Linked DNA regions of Homo sapiens: regions 2, 3, 4 and 5 are each linked to region 1. Evidence: promoter capture Hi-C in 16 types of primary human blood cells and fetal thymus (Javierre and others, 2016). All regions are on one chromosome and are shown on one strand. Each heading gives the region's core, a stretch centred on a gene start or on the middle of the fragment in contact. The rest is flanking DNA. Distances are from core to core; before and after follow the strand shown.

Region 1 (3,809 bases), core at 812-3,311:
GCGGATCACAAGGTCAGGAGATCAAGACCATCCTGGTGAACACGGTGAAACCCTGTCTCTACTAAAAATACAAAAAAAAATTAGCCTGGCATGGTGGCGGGTACCTGTAATCCCAGCTACTCGGGAGGCTGAGGCAGGAGAATGGCGTGAACCCGGGAGGCGGAGCTTGCAGTGAGCCGAGATCACGCCACTGCACTCCAGCCTGGGCGACAGAGTGAGACTCCATCTCAAAAACAAAAAAAAAACAACAAAAGCAAATGGTGACATCGAGCAGCAACGAAAGGGTGGCTTGGGGACTTGGGCACAGCTGCAGAGCACAGCAATCCGGCCGACAGCAGTTCCCGTGGAAACACCCGGGGCTCCACACCAGTCATGTGTCATCAGGATCATACTGGTGCCCTGACATGAACGTGCGCCCTGCTGGCCCCAGGCTCACACATGCAGAGCCCCAGCACACTGGAGCATGTTTGAGGAGCTTTGCCAGAACCAGGAAGGGATTTGAAACGTTATCACACAAGGAATAGTTGCAGGACTTGAGGCTTTATCCTGAAAGAAGACGTAGGCAGTCACTTCCAATCATCTAACGAATGAGCTGGTGGGGGGCAGGGGGCGGGCCTCCAGGGGGTCTTGAGAGCAGAGTCGCGCACCCTGGATGGAAAGGCACCACAAGTGACTTTCTCGTCAACTAGGCAAGGTCTCCTAACAGCTGTTGTGCCACGGAGAGGCTGCTGTCCTGGAGGTCCTGCATTCTAAATCACAAAGTGAGGTGACAAGAGAAAGGATCCCTGCAGTGGGTTGGGGAGTGCGTTTTGGAGATTATCATCCTAGATCTACCAACACCGTGATCCTAAAGCCCCTGTGATAACACCAAGTCCAATTTACAGTGTCTTCTTCACGACACTGCACCAAGGTGCTCAAGATGCCCCAGTGCCCCAGAGCGTACCTGGCCAGCTGCGTGTCACCCATGCCATCCTCTCCAGCTAAGGGTCCCCGGATGTTTGACAAAAATCCTGAAAACTGCAGGAGTCAGGCTAAAGAAAAAGGCTGAAAGAAACTGAGCTAGCTCTAGAAACAGAAAGGAATTTTTTTAAGTTATACTTGTCTTCAGAAGTATTCAAGATGATACTGCACTTACGAAATAAAAAATGCTACTAATGAGACAGAGAGCTTGGACATTAAAAATGCAATTGCTGGCATTAAAAGAAGACATTCATTAACATGACTGAAATATAAAGTTAAGAGTATCTTCTAGAATGTAGAATGAAAAGAGACAGAATCAAACCAGGAGAGTCTGTATCTGGCTAACCAAAGTTCTAGAAAAAAAAGAAGAGGGTGAGGACAGTGATGGAATTGTCAGAGAAGGCTTGAAGAAAACCGCCCAGATCTCATCAGACTGAAAGGGCGCTGAGCCCAAGGAGCGCGAGAGCAAAGGAAAGTTACCTTCAAAGCACACAGGAGCCGCGGCAGCCTGGGATTTCCCATCGGCAGCCCTGGATATCAGGAGGTAGGAGGGCTCAGTGTTCTGAAGGCGAGTGATGTCCACAGAGCCCCCGCAGGACAAGGACGCTGGCCACTGCCATGCACGGCTCCCACATGTCAGTGGCTTCCTGCCATATTGGGTTAGTTCTCATATCAAGTCAGACAAGGAGCACACACGGTGGGAAGCAGCAGGAAGGGGCTGACCTGACCTGTGCTCACAGCCCATGGGCCAGTGCCAGTCACATGTCCCAGCCTAGCTGGACCTGTACTCACGTGTCCTCACAGCTCATTGGCTAATGCTTGTCATATGACCCAGCCTAGCTGGACCTGTGCTCACGTCCTCACAGCTCATTGGCTAGTGCCAGTCACATGACCCAGCTTGTCCCTGTGTCACGTGTACTCACAGCTCATTGGCTAGTGCTGGTCATATGACCCAGTCTCCTGTCAGTCTGAGACCTGTGGGAGCCCTGGACTAGGCGGTGTTCCTGGGGGGTGCACTGGCAAGCCCAGGTACTCAACCAGAATGAGAAGATCAGAACTGGAAGTGGTGGCTCCACCCAAAGATGACCATAAGGAAAGTTCTGGAATGAGAACTGGTATGTGTCCTAGAGAGAAGCCAGCCCAGATGGTCTGGGGTCAGGGAGGGCATAAGAGGGGGTTTGGGGGCTGTGGAGTCCACGGAGCACAAAGTGTGTCCAGGGATGGCGTGCTGAAGGAGTGACAGAAGCACAGACTGCAGGAGTCGAGGAAGGCAGAGACACAGGGGCCAGGCCAGGACGGCCTTCCTGTGCAGCAGCCGCTGAGGTGGGACAGGACCGAAAGCCCCAGGGTGCAGGAGCGAGGGGCTCCTGCGATGGGAAGATGGGAGAGCTGGGAGCGTTCTCGCATGCAGAGCTGGTGTGTTTTCTTCCTCTGGGAAGGAAGGAGGGGAGGGCCATACCCAGGAGGGGACAACTAGAAACTTGTTGAAAAGCAGCGTACATAGATCACAGGTCCAAGGACGAAGCAGGTGAACCCGTCCTGTGATTTTAAGCATGAAAGGAGAATGTTTGCCTGGCATGGGGGACTGCCCCAGGGATGGCACAGTTGGTCATCCCGACATAGAAATCGCCTGGGTGGGTGGTGCCATAGCCCGGCCCCTGGCTCTGGGGGCTGACATTACCGTAAGGTCAGGACCACACGAAGCTGATCCTGATGTGTCACTCAGAGAATCGCCCCGTGGCCGAACCCACCCTGGGCGCGGGTGTTGGTGTTTATTAGTGGAGGTACAACCCAGGCTGCTTGGGGGAGGGGAGAAGGAGAGCAGAGGCCCTGCATCTCCATCCCACACCCTACACCGTGGGTGAAGAGGCGAGGCCAGAAGCCGCCCACCAGGAATCAGAGGAGCTCCCAGCAGCACCCACTGAGGAGGACAGTTGCCACAGACCCTAAGCAGGAGCAGCTCTGCCTTCAGGTGCCCAGACCAGGTGCAGGCAGGCAGCCTGGCGCTCCCAGATAAACAAGGCCTGGCAGCCCTGGCCACTGCCCTGCATGTGGAGCACAGCTCCCTTCACTCCTGACAGCCTCATTCTGAAAGCCCTGGAATTCCTGCTGATGGCAGCCTTCCTTGTTTTCCTGTTTTGGAAAGCCTTTTGGAGATTTCTGGAAGGTGGTCTGTGGCTGCGCATCCTCAGCTGGTTGGCGATTCCACCTCAGACCCATCTCACAGGTGTGGAAACTGAGGCTCAGGAGCAGGGACCTGGCCACAAACACACGGCGGTAAGCGGCCGAGCCAGGGCGTCCACAGGTGTCCCTGTGTCCACATGAATCGCCTCCTCTGTGCCTGCCCCATGGGGATGGAGCCTGCAGCCTGGTTTGGGCCGTGACGGGAGTGCCTGGGACGCCTCACACCATGGTGGGGTCTCAGCCCTTCACTCATGGGGCCCATCCCTTTGATGGACTACCTGCTCTTCATGAAATGACGTCGGGACTGGATTCTGAGCTTCGTTGATCTTTGTGTGTTCTGGAAGGCAGTCGGGAGGTGTTCGTGGAACGTGGTTACCGAAAAACACGGGGCTTCTGTCACGGGTGATGTGGTGGAGGTGGCAGCCCAGCCCAGAAGGCGGCCACTCTACATTTTCAGGCCGCGTGTGAAGGCCAGCTTTGATCTACACCAAGGACTGGAGCAGTGGTCCTGGAGATGCACGGGCATCCTCAGAAGGGGGCCAGCAGCAAAGGGGCAGAAATGGAACCACCGGAACCAAGGGGAGGGTCTGGGCTAGCGACCCATGGCGAAGTCCCAAGGGGTGGGTGACATCCGCCTGAAAGAAACATCAGAGAAGAGCAGGGGC
Region 2 (3,809 bases), core at 663-3,162, 200 kb before region 1:
ACTACCTGAGACTGGGTAATTTACGAAGAAAAGAGGTTTAATTGACTCACAGTTCCACAGGCTTAACGGGAAACATGGCTAGGAGACCTCAGGAATCTTACAATCATGGCGGAAGGTGAAGGGGAAGCCAGCACATCTTACCAAGGTGGAGCAGGAGAGAGAGAGAGAGAGCAAAGGGGAATGCCCTATACCTTTGAAGAAACAGATCTCATGAGAATTCCATCATGAGACAGCACAAGACGGATGGTGCTAAAGCATTGGAAACCACCCCCATGATCCAATCACCTCCCACCAGGCCCCTTCTTCAACATGTGGGAATTGCAATTTGACATGAGATTTGGGTGGGGACTCCTTCCCCTCCCCTCCCCTCCCCTGCCTCCCTCCCTCCTCCCCTCCCTTGCTTCTTTCCTTCCTTCCTTCCTTCCTCTTTCTTTCTCTCTCGACAGTCTTCCTCTGTCTCCCAGGCTGGAGTGCAGTGGTATGATCATGGCTCACGGCAACCTCCACCTCCTGGGCTCAAGTGATCCTTCAATCTCAGCCTCCTGAGTAGCTGGCACTATAGGTGCACACCATCACGTCCAGCCAATTTTTAGAATTTTTTGTAGACATGGAGGCTCACTATGTTGTCACTGTTGGTCTTGAACTCCTCGGTTCAAGCAATCTTCCCAGTTCGGCCTCACAAACTGCTAGGATTTCAGGCGGGTGCCACCTCGCCCAGCCTAAGCAGGCTTCTGATCACTGATGTCTCAGAGCTCCGCGTGGGTGAGCCAAGCTTGTGTCCCTGAGGAAGGGGCTGTGGAGTCCACCTGCAAATGCACCTGCTTTTTCTCATCGAGCATTTTGGAGCTGGTGTTCCCTGGGTCGTGGTTCCAGAAATGCTGATTTAGGTACGTTATAGCTATCACTTAATTTATAGGACAGCCCTACCACATGTGTCCTCCTAGGCACATTTTACAGACGTGGAAGTTAAACCTTGGAGAATGTAAGTGACTTGTCCAGGGTCACACAGGGAGCTGTAGAGGAGGGAACTCTGAGCTTTCCTCCTGCGCTCAGCACATCTTTGTGAAGTTTCGTATGTGAGGAGGATTTCCACTGGCTCACCCTTAGTTATCTTTGAGGCTATTACTAGTGCTACTGCATCAAATGTAACATAAGAAAAATTTTGCCGGAAGGGTTCAAGGCAGCTTAATTGTGATTGTTTAAATTAGCTCTGGAGTGCCACCTGCCCATCATTTGGGGGGAGTCCCCATCCCCTCAGGGGCGTGGTCTCAGAGGCCACTGTGACCCGCAGCTGGCCTGGGAGCGGCCTGGCCCAGGACAAAGTTCTCATGGATTGGGACACAAAAGAGGAAGACTCCATTTATTCCATTTACACAACGATCAGGCCTTTCGCTCCTCTGAGGAACCACGTCGTCCCTCATTAGGTTAGGGTTGTCAGGAATGGTGCTATGTGGAGCGTTTCCAGCTGCTGAGCCCCAGTGGGGTGGGGAGCCCACTCAGGAAGCCTCTGTCCTGGCACTGCATGCCCACCGGAGCTGGCAGGGGGTCCTGGGGGGTGAGGGAGACACACCCCACCCCAGGGCTCACTTGGGTGCTGGAAGAGGAGTCACATATAATGGGAGACCTTCAACCTCCCTTCATATGATGCCAGTTAACTCAAGCCTCATAAATAGGACTACGAATTAATATCTGTGAATTAATATTAACTATGAATTAATATCCCTGGGGGCAGGGCCGGGTAAAAGAGGAAGCGAGAGGGAGACAGAATGAGCCTGTCCCATCGCAGGGGCTGTTTATGGGAAGAGCCTCCAGAGCCCCAGGAGCTCTCTGTGCCTCCCCACTTTCTCCCTCTCCCTCTAGGTCTTTCCCCAGTCTCTGTCCCTCTCTTCGGCCCCTTTCTCCTTCCCTCCCTCCATCTCTGTCTCTCTCCACAAGCCCTAATGACAGGGTCTATGCTCTTGGAAAACTCATTGTGTCAGAGGTCCCAGAGTGGGGGCTTCCTTCTGAAACTAGCAGGAGTGTGTGCACTTTGTGGGCCTGTGAACCAGGGAAAGCCATCGGCCTCAGACCAGTTTGCCAGGGCCTCCACACCAGGCACAGAAACGCAGCACCCAGTTGCGTTGGAGATTTCTGCAAGAATGCTGCGTTCAGTGCTGTTTGGAGAGGGTAGGGGGGCAGGGCACTTTTGTAAAAAGAATACTTCTAGTTAATAGCTGCTCCCCTCGAGTGGCATGCCCATTGCAGTGTCGAGAGGTCAGATGCGAGGGTCCTCGGCTCTGGATGAGTGACCATGGCCGTGCCCCTTCCCTGAGGGACACTCACCCACTCCTTCTCATTAGCTGTTCCCTTTAAGGACCGACTTCCCTCCAGAGGGAAATTCCTGAAACCCAACAGTTGACAAACCCACACACCCTCGGGAGGGCTGGGCACCAGATAAAAAGCCCTCCGAGGGAGCCCAGCCCCTCCTGGGGATGGACGGCCGCTGCCGCCGGGGGACCCAGCAGAGCCCGGGACCTGCCGCCTAGACCCCCAGCAGAGCCTGGGATCTGCCTCCAGGACCACCCCCCACCCCCCGCAGAGCACAGGACCTACCTCTGGGACCCCCCCTCCCCACCACAGCAGAGCCCCGACCTGCCTCTAGGACCCCCTAGCAGAGCCCCGACCTGCCTCTGGGACCCTCCAGCAGACTGTGGGGACCTGCTGCCCAAACCCCCAGCCAGAGTGCACCCGCCCCACCCGCTCCCGGCCTGCCATGGTCGCCTGTGCCCCTGGTCCTAAAAGGCGGTGAGCCCAGGGAGCCTGCGCCTGAGGGAAACGGGTCTCCTAAGTTTCTCTGGCTTGTTCTCAGCTCTCCGCAGCACGATCTATTTCTGTCTTTCCTTTTGGAAAGTGTGCTTTGCCAGCGACTAATCCCAGGCCGGGCCGAGATTGTTATCACCTGTCACCTGCACGCAGGGCCCAAGCCCATCAGGGAAATGAAGAGATAAACCAGCGGCTGCAGCCCAACCTGCCAGGGGCCACCTGCCTCCCGCAGGCAGCAACCAGAAGCTTCCCCACTGCGACCGCCAGGGCCACCTCTGTCCCCGCCTTAGGCCGCTGGCATGTGGCCGTCGCAGTGACCCCCGGGGGCCCCGCGGCCGCCCCTGGAAAGGCTGACGCAGACGTCTGAGGAGCAGCCACTTCCCTGCAGGCTGAGCGGAGCCCTGGATGGAGCTTGGCACCCAAGCCCCTCATGTCTGCCCTGCTGAGTCTGTGTTTTGTGCTGCCCCTGGCGGCCCCCGGCCACGGCACGCAGGGTTGGGAGCCCTGCACAGGTAAGGCAGGGGCATGGGAACTCGGGCGGGGGTATCTTGCCGGGGAGCTGGGAGGGGTGTCGAGTCACAAATGCCACTTTCTAACACTGATTCAAGCCGCGGTGCCCGAGGACGCTTTGGCAGGACTGGCAGGTAGCACCCTGTGGAGATGGGCAGAGGCGGGAGGAGCACAGGTGGGGAAGATGAAAGCGCAGGGCAGGCAGTTGCAATAGAAACGCGGCTCTTTAGAACGCACGCAGGGTGGGGACGAGCTTCAAGAGCTAACCAGCAGCCACCGGGGCCTCCACAAGTGCTTACCTGCTGGGCCTCCCGGGAAAGGCTGACACCTGCTTTGGGAATGAAGAATGAAGTCGCAGCAGCCCGGGAGGCTACTGTGCACGAGCCATTTCCTTAGCTGGTGGAGGTGCCCCCAGCCTGCACTCAGCAAAGCGAAGGGCCACACCGGCCCTGCTCCTTCCCCACATGAGCAAAAAGCTGGAGACACAGACACAGCCC
Region 3 (3,809 bases), core at 499-2,998, 170 kb before region 1:
TCATTTCTGGAAAAAAAAAAGACTTGGAATTTTGATAAGGACTGCATTGAATCTGTAGATTTCTTTGGGTAGTACTGCCATTTTAACAACATTAAGTCTTCTAATCCATGAACATGGATGTCTTTCCATTTATTTAGGTCTTCTTTAATTCTTTCAGCAATGTTTTACAGTTATCATTGTACAAGTCTCTTACCTCCTTGGTTATATTTGTTACTAGGTATTTTATTCTTTTGGATGCCATTGAAATGGAATTGTTTTTCTTAATTTCCTTATCAGATTTTTCATTGCTGGTGTATAGAAACATGCATGATTTTTGTATGTTGATCTTGTACCCTGAAACTTTGGTGAATTCTTTAATAAAGCTCTAGTAGCTTTCTTGTGGATTCTTTGGGATTTTCTATAGACATGATCATGTCACCCGTGAATAGAAATAATTTTACTTCTTCCTTTCCAATTTTAATGACTTTTATTTATTTATTTTTCTTGTTTAATAGCTCTGGCTAGAACTTCCAGTACAATGTTGAATATTGGTGGTGAAAAGGGACATCCTGTCTTGTTCCTAATCTTAGGGGGAAAGCTTTCAGTCTTTCACTGTCAAGTATAATGCAAGCTGTGGGTTTTTCATACATGCTGTTTAGCATGTTGAGGAAATTCCCTTCTATTTCTAGTTTTCTGAGTGTTTTAAAATCATAAAATGGTGTTGGACTTTGTCAAAGCCTTTTCTTTGTTAATTGAGATCATGTGGGTTTTTTCACTTCATTCTCTTCGTGTGGTATACTACATTGATTATTTTTAATCTGGAGCTATCTTTGCATTCCTGGGATAAATCCAACTTGGTCATGGTATATAATCCTTTTAATATGCTGTTGGAATCACTTTGCTAGTATTTTGTTGAGAATTTTTGCATCTGTACTTACAAGTCATGTTCGTCTGTGATTTTCTTTTCTTTTGATGTCTTATGTGGGTTTGGTATCAGCATAATGTTTGCTTCACAGAGTGAGTTAGAAAGTGATCCTTCTATTTTTTTCTTTCACAACTTGAGGAGGTTTTTGTTAAATTTTAAAAAAATGTTTGGTGATATTCACCAGTAAAGCTGTTGTTGGGTGGAGTGTCTATACATATCTTTTGTGAGTAACTGGTTTATAGTGGGTTCAGTTCTCTATTTCCTATTGACCTTCTGACTAGATGTTCTGTTCATTATTGAAAATGAAATATTAAAGTCTCCAACTATTGTAGAACTATTTCTCACTTGAATTCTGTCAATGTTTGCTTCATATATGTGGGGACTCTTTGTATGGTGCATATATGTTTCTAATTCTCATATCTTTGATGAGTTGAATCTTTTATCAATACATAATGTCCTCATGCATTTTTGCAATTGGAACAATATGGATGAATAGGTCCTTGATGTTCTGTCTCTCAGTTCTTAGGGTCTTAGTGTACGGATGGGGACATAAGGATTCTTGAAAAAATAAGCTTATTATAGAGAAAGTCAGCTGTGAGTAATGGCTGATACAACATATGTTGTTAACAGTTATACGTTAGAGACATAGGGGTGAGTGCCATTCTTTGCTATCAGCTCTGTTCCCTGGCCTAATGATGCACATGCTAATTCCGTAATCTCTTAGAGCTTGGGGAGAGAGAGGGACTCAAAGCAACAAGGTTGTAAAATCATGTTCTTAGGAGACATTTCAGATGTTACCTAGGTAAGGGGGTGAGCTGGGGAGAGAGAGAGAAGTGTGGAGAGAGGAGAGAAGGGGAGAGGAGGCGAGGGGAGATGAAGGGAAGGGAGGGGAGGAGGACAAACTAATAGGTGTCTGGATTCTCCATCCCACTTTAAATTAGAGAAGCTGTGTTTTAATCTGTTTTACAGACTTGACTTCTAGGTCAGATTCAGTTTGAAAAAATATTTCCACTACTTTAAAATATTTTGAAAAGAGCCTGGCATGGTGGTGCATACCTGTAGTCCCAGCTACTTGAGAGGCTGAGGTGGAAGGATCACTTGAGCCCAGAAGCTTGATGCTAGACTGACAACATGGCAAGACCACCCCTTCTCTATAAACAAACAGACAAACAAAAATGTAGAAAAGCAAATGACCACACCCCCAGAGGATAAAATACATGCTACTTAGCCTTAGAAAAACACATATGCTTACTTAATAGTTTTATGGTTAATAATTTGCTGTCATGTTTACTGCTTATCTTAAGAACTGCTTATCTTCTGTTTAACCTGTTTATTTACAGCATGCTCATCTTTGAAAGCGTGGGCTGAATGCTGACCTCCCGGACATCATGAGTGTTGTTCTGTGAGTCTGTAGCCTTCAGTGCTGCTGATGAGATGTCTGATGCTAATCTGATTTTTATTGCTTGTGGGTGACTTGTTCATTTGTTTGTTTGTTTGATTTTCTGGAAGCCCATGGGAACCACTTGTTATCTTTGATGTTATATCATTTCAACAGAGGACATATCTAGGATTTTTCCGTTCATTTTTCTTGGCATCACTTGGTTCTTTTCAGCCTGAAGACTGTGTCTTTAGCCTTGGGAAATGCTCCTCTTTAGGAGTTTATTTGTGCATCCGCTCATCATTCTCACTGTCCCGCTTTGTGGGACTCCCACACATCAGGGATTACATTCACTAGATCAGTCATTTATGGTATTTTTTCCTCATTTCTTTTTTATCTCTTTGACGTTTTGTTCCAAATCAGAGCGATTTCTCAACCTCATGGTGATGGTTAATACTGAGTGTCAACTTGATTGGATTGAAGGATGCAAAGTACTGATCCTGGGAGTGTCTGTAAGGGTGTTGCCAAAGGAGATTCACATTTGAGTCAGTGGCTGGGAAAGGCAGGCCCACCCTTAATCTGAGTGGGCACCATCTAATCAGCTGCCAGCGAATATAAAGCAGACAGAAAAAATGTGAAGAGGCGAGACTGGCCTAGCCTCCCAGCCTACATCTTTCTGCTGTGCTGGATGCTTTCTGCCCTTGAACACTGGACTCCAAGTTCTTCAGTTTTGGGACTCAGACTGGATCTCTTTGCTCCTCAGCTTGCAGACGGCCTATTGTGGGACCTTGTGATCATGTTAGTTAATACTTAGTAACCCCCCCCAAAATATATATATATATATATATATATATATTCATTCTATTCTGTCCCTCTAAGGGAACCCTAATACACTCACCTTCAAGCCTCTCTGTTTAATTTTAAATATCAATGAGATGTTTAATATCTGTGACATTTTAGGGATCATTGTTCTAATTGTTCATTTTCAAAGCATCTTGTCCTTGTTTGGTAGATGTAACATCTTCCTGAATATCTGAGTGTATTTAGGACTTTTTTTTTTTTTATTCGAGATGGAGTCTCGCTCTGTCGCCCAGGCTGGAGTGCAGTGGCATGATCTCAGCTCACTGCAAGCTCCGCCTCCCAGGTTCACGCCATTCTCCTGCCTCAGCCTCCTGAGTAGCTGGGACTACAGGCACCCGCCAACACGCCTGGCTAATTTTTTGTATTTTTAGTAGAGACGGGGTTTCACCGTGTTAGCCAGGATGGTCTCGATCTCCTGACCTCGTGATCCGCCCGCCTCGGCCTCCCAAAGTGCTGGGATTACAGGCGTGAGCCACCGTGCCCGGCCGTATTTAGGATTTTTTAAGTTCCTTAAACCATTGGTTTCCCCTGGGTGCAGTGATATGTTAGTTTATCTTGGTCTTGCTTTTCGTGCCGCTGGCTTCCCTCCTGGCTGGGGTGAGGGTGGTCCCGGGCTGCCCGGGCTCCTCTCTTGCTGTGTGTGTGGTCTGTTTTCTGCTGGAGGAG
Region 4 (3,809 bases), core at 976-3,475, 150 kb before region 1:
GAGTTTGATATTACATATATGTGATGCTGTTTAATGATGTCTCACAGGCTCTTTTCATTTTTCTTAATTCTTTTTCTTCCTCTCCTTCATTTTGGATAATTTCTATTGATGTGCTTCAAGTTCATGAACTCTTCTTCAATCTCATTCTATATTTACGTCTATCATGTGGATTTTAAAATATCAGCTATTGTACATTTTAGTTCTAGCATTCCCATTTAAAAAATAGTTTCAATTTCCCTACTGAGATTCTCTATCTTTGATCTTGAGTTAATTTTGTATATGGTGTGAGGTAAGGGTTAAAAATAATCTTTTGTGTGTGGATATCCTGTTTTCCCACTGCCATTTGTTAAAAAGTCTGTTCTTCCCTCACTGAAAGGTCTTGACAGCCTTGCCGAAAATTATTTGACTGTAGTTGTGAGAGTTTATTTCTGGGCTCTCTATGCTATTCCATTAGTCTATATATTGGTCTTTATGCCAGTACCACAGTTTTGATTAGTGTAGCTTTGTAGTAAGTTTTGAAATCAGAAAGTGTGACTCCTCCAGCTCTATTCTTTTCTTAAGATTGATTTGGCTATTTAGGGTCCCTTGAGACTCCACATAAACTTTAGGATGGGTTTTTCTATTTCTGCAAGAAATGTCCTTGGGATTTTGACAGGGATTGCATTGAATCTGTAGATTGCTTTGGTTAGTATGGACATATTAACAATATTAATTTCCAATTCATGAACATGGGATGTGTTTCCATTTATTTCTGTTGCCTTTAATTTCTTTCAACGTTTTGTAGTTTTTGTTACACAATTATTTTAATTCTTTGGTTAACTCCTGAGTATTTTGTTCTTTTTAATGTATTGTAAATGGAATTGTTATTGTACTTTCCTTTTGAGATTATGCTTGTTAGTTTATGGAAATAGAACTGATTTTTGTGTTTTGCTTTTGTATCCTGCTACTTTGCTGAATTCATTTATTCTAAAATTTTTGTGTGTGGAATATTTAGAGTTTTCTACATATAAAAATCATGTCATCTGTGAACACAGCTAACTTTACTTCTTGCTTTTCAATTTGGATGCTTTTTGTTTCTTTCTTTCTTCCTTTTAAAAACAATTGCCTAGTTGCTCTTAGTAAAACTTCTAGTACTATGCTGGCTTTGTTCCCAATATTAGAGAAAAAGCCTTCAGTTTTTCACCAGTGGGTATGAGGCTTGCTGTGGGTCTTTCATGTATGGCTTGTATTGTGTTGAGGTAGTTTTCTTCTATTCTTAGTTTGTTGATTGTTGTCATCATGAAAGAATCTTGAATTTTGTGAAATGCCTTTTCTATATCAATTGAGATGATCACGTGGTTTTTTCCTTCATTCTGTTATCATGATGCCAAGTTCCAAGTGATCTGGTGTTGACATCTGTAGGCTCAGAGATTCTACTGTCCCTGCAGTACAGGGTGCACATGGCTTTCTGCTGAACATACCCAGAAGTCATTCTGGCCCTTGGAACCTTCTATATTCAGCTCACACATATCCTGCTGTGGCTGTCCATGGGACCCTTCACTGGCCTCACATGCTTCCCTGGGAACATGCTTGGACCAGCTTGATTTCCTTAGAGCTGTGTCTCCATGCATGAGGGCCAGTGGTGTTGTCTCATCTTGGTTCTTAACTAGGAGGATTTCTCAAGACAAAGATCCATGGTCACCACTCACAAGAAGTTCTCTGTGACCCACACCCTTTGTCCCCACTCATCCTATGGACAAGTGATTTCCATGTTCTTCCTCCATCTGCTAGCTCTCATCCAGCTCTAAGCTCTCAGGACACCCACAGATCAGCTAGACACGTCCTGTTCTACCTCACATTGACTGTGGAGCCTTCCTGAGCCATGAGAGGAGTGTAAACTTCTGTGGTTTAAGGACCATCATCACACAGAGAGGAAAAAAATCTGGAGATCTGAGTTTTTGGAATCTCACAAAAGTAACTCAGGTAAAATTTTAAAGAACAAGGAAGAATCTTGATGAAGCCAGTAAAACACTCTGGCAGGTTTCCAAGCATACCAAGAGTTCGAAGAAGGTGCAATTAGTCATGAAGCTAAGGGCCAAACAAAACCCAGAGACACCTACAACAGAAAATTAAGCTCCAGGAGACAGCACTGAGGAAGAAAAACAAGGAAGACAGGTGTGCTTCTGTGCTGTGGGGATGCCTGGGCCCAGGTATAAAGGCTGCCCAGGGAGGCCGTCCCCAGACATCACTGCCCTCTGCCTCGACCTTATCCAGCCACACGCCACCATGTGTCATACCAGCTGCTCCTCGGGCTGCCAGCCAGCCTGCTGCGCGCCCAGCCCCTGCCAGCCAGCCTGTTGTGTGCCCAGCTCCTGCCAGGCATCCTGCTGTGTGCCTGTGGGCTGCCAGTCCTCCGTGTGTGTGCCCGTGAGCTTCAAGCCAGCCGTGTGCCTGCCCGTGAGCTGCCAGTCTTCTGTGTGTGTGCCCATGAGCTTCAAGTCAGCTGTGTGCGTGCCCGTGAGCTGCCAGTCTTCTGTGTGTGTGCCTGTGAGCTGCAGGCCCATTGTGTGTGCAGCCCCCTCCTGCCAGTCCTCCCTGTGCGTGCCTGTGAGCTGCAGGCCTGTCGTGTATGCGGCTCCGTCCTGCCAGTCCTCTGGGTGCTGCCAGCCCTCCTGCACCAGCGTCCTCTGCAGACCCATCTCCTACAGTATCTCTTCCTGCTGCTGAGCATGAATCTCCAGACCCGCTGCTCCCAGTGCAGATGAGGCCACACCTGTACACTCCCTGGATGAGTCCTCAGTTGGTCTTCTGCACATGGTGCAGGTGAAAAGCATGCTCAGTTGAACCCTCTGAATTCTGGATTGAGAATGTGACAGAATGATCTGGAGCCCTTGCTGACCTTGCCCATCCCCCCAGGGAAGTCTGGGGTCCCAGAGTCATTCTCTGACCCCATGAGAGCCAAATAAACCAGCTTTCCCCATGCAGCTCTGCATTTCTGGTCTTTCTTTTTTATTTCCATACTCCCTGCTATCTATTCTGCTGATTACATAGAATTTGCTGCTAAACCCTCTTCAGTGATCCCTTCACCCAGTGCTCATCAGAAGGTGGTGTCCCGGGTGGAGGGCGCAGCTGCAGATGCCCATGTGGTCTCTCCCAGGGCTCCTGGGGCCCAGGTGCAGTGGCCACAGAAGTGACTTACCCGCCTGTGGTAGAGTGGTCTCGCTTCCCCACTGGCTGTCCACTCCTGCTCCAGGCCAACAAGCCCTGCACTGATGGCCAAAGCCTCAGAGCATTGACAATTGGGTTTTCTGATGTGGTTGGTGGACGTCCTGTTTCCCAGGTCGCGGAGGATCTCAAGTTTACAGAACTGGATTAGTTCTGCGGCACACACTCCCATCACTGGTCCACAAAGGCTTGGTTTTTATTGATTGACTGATGATCAATTACTGAGGATCCTAATATAATAAACCCGCATGAACCCACTGCCTGACATAGAAATGAGAACATCATCAATAATTTACCAAGAACTTCTTGGGGCAGCCACTGTTGGGATTGTGTGCTCCTTATTCTGTTACTTTCTAGAAAAAATAGAGTTGAGTCATATCTCTATGTATTCCTGAAATGGGTGTTTTCTAATTTAGTAATTTCTGGTGATATGAAAAGGAAATTATTCAGAATGTAATCTGGAACTTGCTTTTCCCAGTCTGCGTTGTGCTGGTAGCATTCTTCTGCATTTCCCCTGTCTGGGCTGTATTCCCCTCCTGGGGGGCTCTGCTGTGACTGTCTCAGGTTAAACGTTCCCCAGTAGATGGGCCAGCCCTCTTGCCCCA
Region 5 (3,809 bases), core at 746-3,245, 130 kb before region 1:
TAAATTCAGCTACTTTCTGGTTCAAGGTCCTCTTGGGGTTTTTGTTCTGTTGCTTCTTCCCTGGGCCCTCCCAGCCTCCTGAGGAGGTGCTGACCTGACTGGTCTCACTAGTGCCCTCTTCACTCTCCAGTGCTAGTGGTCCACTGAGACTACAGCCTCATCCTCTCCCACTGTCCTAAGGGTTCATCGATAAGGTGTCTTTTTGCTCTGTGTCTCCTCACCCAGGCCTTAAACCCTGAGTAGGATGAGTGACGTCTGAGTAACTCCAGGACCCCTCTTGGGGCCCATGAAATTGCTAGTGCTTCAGAGCACACAGAGTGGCCCTCAAACTCTCGGGGCAGCCCTCTGTGTGGGCACCTTTTCCACGGCCCACACACCACGAGGCCAGCACGGTGCCTGGGGCTCTCAGGTCCCAACTGAACGGGATTTCTGCTTCTTCCCGACTCAGCTTTAGCTTGGACTGGCAGGGGACAGGCATGGGCGGGTGGCCCAAAGCTCACCAGAGGCCGAGCCCACTCAGCTCTGCTCCCCTCCCTGGCTCAGCTTGGAGGCTCATCCCCTGTGGGCAGGGCTTTGGCTGCAGGAAGAGTGTGGAGCTGATCACATTTGCTTTCAAAGCCTGCTGTCTTCCAAGTGTTTGATCTCGGAATGAGAGACACTGTCCTGTCTGCCTTTAACAAGACAGTGGGTCCCACACCCCAAATTTGGAGTAGGCAGAGGGGCTCAGGGGAAGAGCAGAAAGTGCACACCAGCCCGTATTTCCTGACTCAAGAATTTATTGATTAGAGCAGTTCTTCTTTGTCACATTGGGTATAAGCAACACATTTGGAGAAGGGGGCTCCAGAAAGCCACAGTCCACCTGCTGAGGGATTTGTGGGTTGTCTCTTCCCAGACAGTGGGGAGGAAAGTGTGACGCGCTCAAAATCCCCTTCAGGCAGCAGCTCTGTGGCTACTGATGGAGCTGGTGGATTCTGAGGACTCCAGGGGCTCCTGAGACTGGAGAATCCTGCTTGGCAGCAAAGACACAGTCAGCAGGAGACAAGGATTGAGCACTCAGCAGCTGGACTTCTTGCCTGAGCAGAGGCTGTAGCAGGCCAGGCGGGAGCTTGCGGGGCGGCAGAGGAGGGACACGCAGGAGGCCGGGCGGCAGCAGCTGGACTGGCAGGAGGAGGTGGGGGCACAGCAGGAGGAGACGGGCACACAGCAGGTGGACCTGCACACGGGGTGGCAGAGGAGGGACACAGAGGAGGAGGGTCTGCAGCAGGAGGTGGTGCAGCAAGCTGGCTGGCAGCTAGGCTGCTGGCAGCGTGAAGAGGAAGCCCTAGAGCAGACAGGCACACAGCAGATGGGCTTGCAGTAGACAGTCTTGCAGCAGACAGGCACGCAGCAGGCCTGCTGGTAGGAGGAGGAGGTGCAGCAAGCTGGCTGGCAGCTAGACTGCTGGCAGCATGAAGAGGAATCCTCAGAGCAGGTGGACACACAGCACACAGGCTTGCAGCAGACGGGCACACAGCAGGCCGGCTGGCAGGAGGAAGAGGCACAGCAAGCTGGCTGGCAGCTAGACTGCCGGCAGCACGAAGAAGCAGCCCCACAGCAGACAGGCACACAGCACACAGGCTTGCAGCAGACAGTCTTGCAGCAGACAGGCACACAGCAGGCCTGCTGGCAGGGGGAGGAGGTGCAGCAAGCCGGCTGGCAGCTAGACTGCTGGCAGCATGACGGCGTGCAGGAGCTGGTGCAGCCTGATTGGCAGGCGCTGGGCTCACAGGCCGCCTGGCAGCAGGGGCTGGACACACAGCTCACTGGGGTGCAGACCAGGCTCAGGGAGGGGGCCGGGGCGCAGCAGCTGGGGGCGCTGCAGGGGGGCTCACAGCAGCTCTCTGGGCAGTCGTCCACCTGCCAGGAGTCGGAGTAAGCGCTGGAGCAGACAGACATGGTGGACGCGGCCATGCTGGGGTGGGGAGGAGGTGAGCTGGGGGAGGTGTAAGTGAGTGTGTGAGTGTGTGTGTGAGTGAGTGAGTGAGGTGCTCAGGGCTGTGGGGCTTTTAAATCCCTCCCTGGCATGTGTTGTCCCAACAGGAGGCTCCACAAGCTTTTCTTCCTTGTTGGTGTTTACAGCTGGTGGCTGGAGATGCATCATTCATGCTGGTTTATCTCTTTGTTTTTCCCTTATTAAACTGGTATGTATGTCGCAGGGCTCTGTTTCTTCATCAGTTTTTATTTTGGCCACAGAAATGTGGTGGAAAATATTTCCTTTTTTTTTTTTTTTTTTTTTTTTTTTTTTGAGAGGGAGTCTTGCTCTGTCACCCAGGCTGGAGTGCAGTGGCGCGATCTCAGCTCACTGCAACCTCCGCCCCCTGGGTTCAAGCGATTCTCCCACCTCAGCCTCCCGAGTAGCTGGGATTACAGGCACGCTGTAATTTTTGTATTTTTAGTAGAGACGGGGTTTCACCATCTTGGCCAGGCTGGTCTTGAACTCCTGACCTCATGATCTACCCGCCTCAGCCTCCCAAAGTGCTGGGATTACAGGCGTGAGCCACCGCGTCCGGCCGGAAAATATTTCAAGCAAGCTTTTGTTGAGTTGAGGTTTTAGAGATGAACGTTTCTCCAAAGGAAGCAATTCTGTTTCCACCTATCCTGTTTCTGGACTGATTAGATATATTTTATTACTTTTAGCATCTTAAAACATAAACATGGAGAAAAATGTACACTTCATATGAAATAAAAACGGCACAGACGATAAGATAAGAGGAAGCTGGCTGAGCGTGGTGACTCATGCCTCTAATCCCAGTACTTTGGGGGGCTGAGGTGGGTGGATCACGAGGTCAGGAGTTTGAGACCAGCCTGGCCAGCATGGTGAAACCCGGTCTCTACTAAAAATACAAAAAATTAGCCAGGCATGGTGGCATGTGCCTGTAGTCCCAGCTACTTAGGCTGAGGCAGGAGAATTCTTGAACCCAGGAGGTGGAGGTTGCAGTGAGCTGAGATTGCACCATTGCACCCCAGCCTAGGTGACAGAGCAAGACTCTGTCTCAAAAAAAAAAAAAAAAGCTAAGTGGCCCTCCCTTCGATCCCTCACACCTTGTAAGGAGAATGCTCAGAGATTCAGTAGCTGGTGGATCCAAGCTTTATTTTTGTCTCTTCAGCTCTTCCATGCCACCCTCAGAGGCTCTTTGTTTTATTTGAAGCTGCACTCTGGATTATTTCAATTTTCATTTTGCCTTGGTGAAAGATCAAGTACTTTTTCATATATGGTGATTTTAGGACATACATTTTAAGATTCCTTGCTTGTCTGAAAATATGTCAACTTTATCCTCACATTTATAATGATAGTTTAGCTGGGTATAAAATTCTGGTTTTAAATTACTTTTCCTCAAAATGATGAACACATGTCACCATTTTTTTGTGATGTCCAGTGTTGCCGATGACAGTCTGATACTGGTCATTTGTCATTTTTTAGTTTCTCTCTTTCCTTAACTCTCTGGGAGCATTTGGGTTTCTTTTTATTGTTCTAAAGTGTCACGCTTTTGTTTCTAGGCTAATGCATTATTTTACTTTCAGTGGTTAGAACTTATTGAGCCTTTCAATATAAAGACTTATCTCCGAAGTGTTTTTCCATTTTTAATAATAATTTCATCTTTCCTGGTCTCTCTTTTTATGACTTTTTATTTCATCTTGTGATGAATGAAATATGTTATCCATTCACTCTGATGATGTTACTTTGAGTTTTTAAATGTTTTTTTCTTGTTTCCTTGGACATCAGATAGTCTGCTCATTGGTGGCAGTTCATTCAGTTTTCTGAATAAAAG

The links. Contacts are between HindIII fragments. The CHiCAGO score rates a contact against its expected background, and 5 or more counts as called.
Region 2: a fragment that was not itself captured here is called in contact with the fragment with the promoter of TSPEAR-AS2 in region 1 in 5 of 17 cell types (naive CD4 T cells, naive CD8 T cells, total CD8 T cells and 2 more); the score reaches 8.3 in naive CD4 T cells.
Region 3: a fragment that was not itself captured here is called in contact with the fragment with the promoter of TSPEAR-AS2 in region 1 in 5 of 17 cell types (naive CD8 T cells, naive CD4 T cells, total CD8 T cells and 2 more); the score reaches 8.0 in naive CD8 T cells.
Region 4: a contact is called between the fragment with the promoter of KRTAP12-2 here and the fragment with the promoter of TSPEAR-AS2 in region 1, in 5 of 17 cell types (naive CD4 T cells, naive CD8 T cells, total CD4 T cells and 2 more). The highest score is 10.3, in naive CD4 T cells.
Region 5: the fragment with the promoter of KRTAP10-11 here is called in contact with the fragment with the promoter of TSPEAR-AS2 in region 1 in 3 of 17 cell types (naive CD8 T cells, total CD4 T cells and naive CD4 T cells); the score reaches 5.5 in naive CD8 T cells.

Annotation. Positions count from the first base shown.
Region 1 is chr21:44,515,467-44,519,275 of GRCh38, reverse strand. It overlaps TSPEAR-AS2 (TSPEAR antisense RNA 2), which reads right to left and starts at 2,061. Exons shown (of 2, transcript NR_026548.1): 1 at 1,441-2,061; 2 at 299-648. All of the region lies in intron 9 of TSPEAR (thrombospondin type laminin G domain and EAR repeats), which reads left to right. It overlaps TSPEAR-AS1 (TSPEAR antisense RNA 1), which reads right to left. Exons shown (of 7, transcript NR_103707.1): 7 at 2,701-3,779. The HindIII fragment of the contact is 11,587 bases long and covers 1-3,809 here.
Region 2 is chr21:44,710,938-44,714,746 of GRCh38, reverse strand. TSPEAR (thrombospondin type laminin G domain and EAR repeats) reads left to right here and starts at 3,175. Exons shown (of 12, transcript NM_144991.3): 1 at 3,175-3,314. The coding sequence starts at 3,233. RefSeq lists an enhancer at 3,215-3,809. The HindIII fragment of the contact is 2,276 bases long and covers 775-3,050 here.
Region 3 is chr21:44,689,042-44,692,850 of GRCh38, reverse strand. The region is part of intron 1 of TSPEAR (thrombospondin type laminin G domain and EAR repeats); the gene reads left to right. Among named protein-coding and RNA genes, the nearest start is that of KRTAP10-12, 6.2 kb to the left of the region's middle. The HindIII fragment of the contact is 539 bases long and covers 1,479-2,017 here.
Region 4 is chr21:44,665,343-44,669,151 of GRCh38, reverse strand. It overlaps KRTAP12-2 (keratin associated protein 12-2), which reads left to right and starts at 2,225. Exons shown (of 1, transcript NM_181684.3): 1 at 2,225-2,963. The coding sequence starts at 2,266. The coding sequence ends at 2,706. The region is part of intron 1 of TSPEAR (thrombospondin type laminin G domain and EAR repeats); the gene reads left to right. The HindIII fragment of the contact is 11,754 bases long and covers 1-3,809 here.
Region 5 is chr21:44,644,600-44,648,408 of GRCh38, reverse strand. It overlaps KRTAP10-11 (keratin associated protein 10-11), which reads right to left and starts at 1,995. Exons shown (of 1, transcript NM_198692.3): 1 at 759-1,995. The coding sequence starts at 1,950. The coding sequence ends at 1,054. All of the region lies in intron 1 of TSPEAR (thrombospondin type laminin G domain and EAR repeats), which reads left to right. RefSeq lists an enhancer at 456-1,320. The HindIII fragment of the contact is 3,315 bases long and covers 1-2,094 here.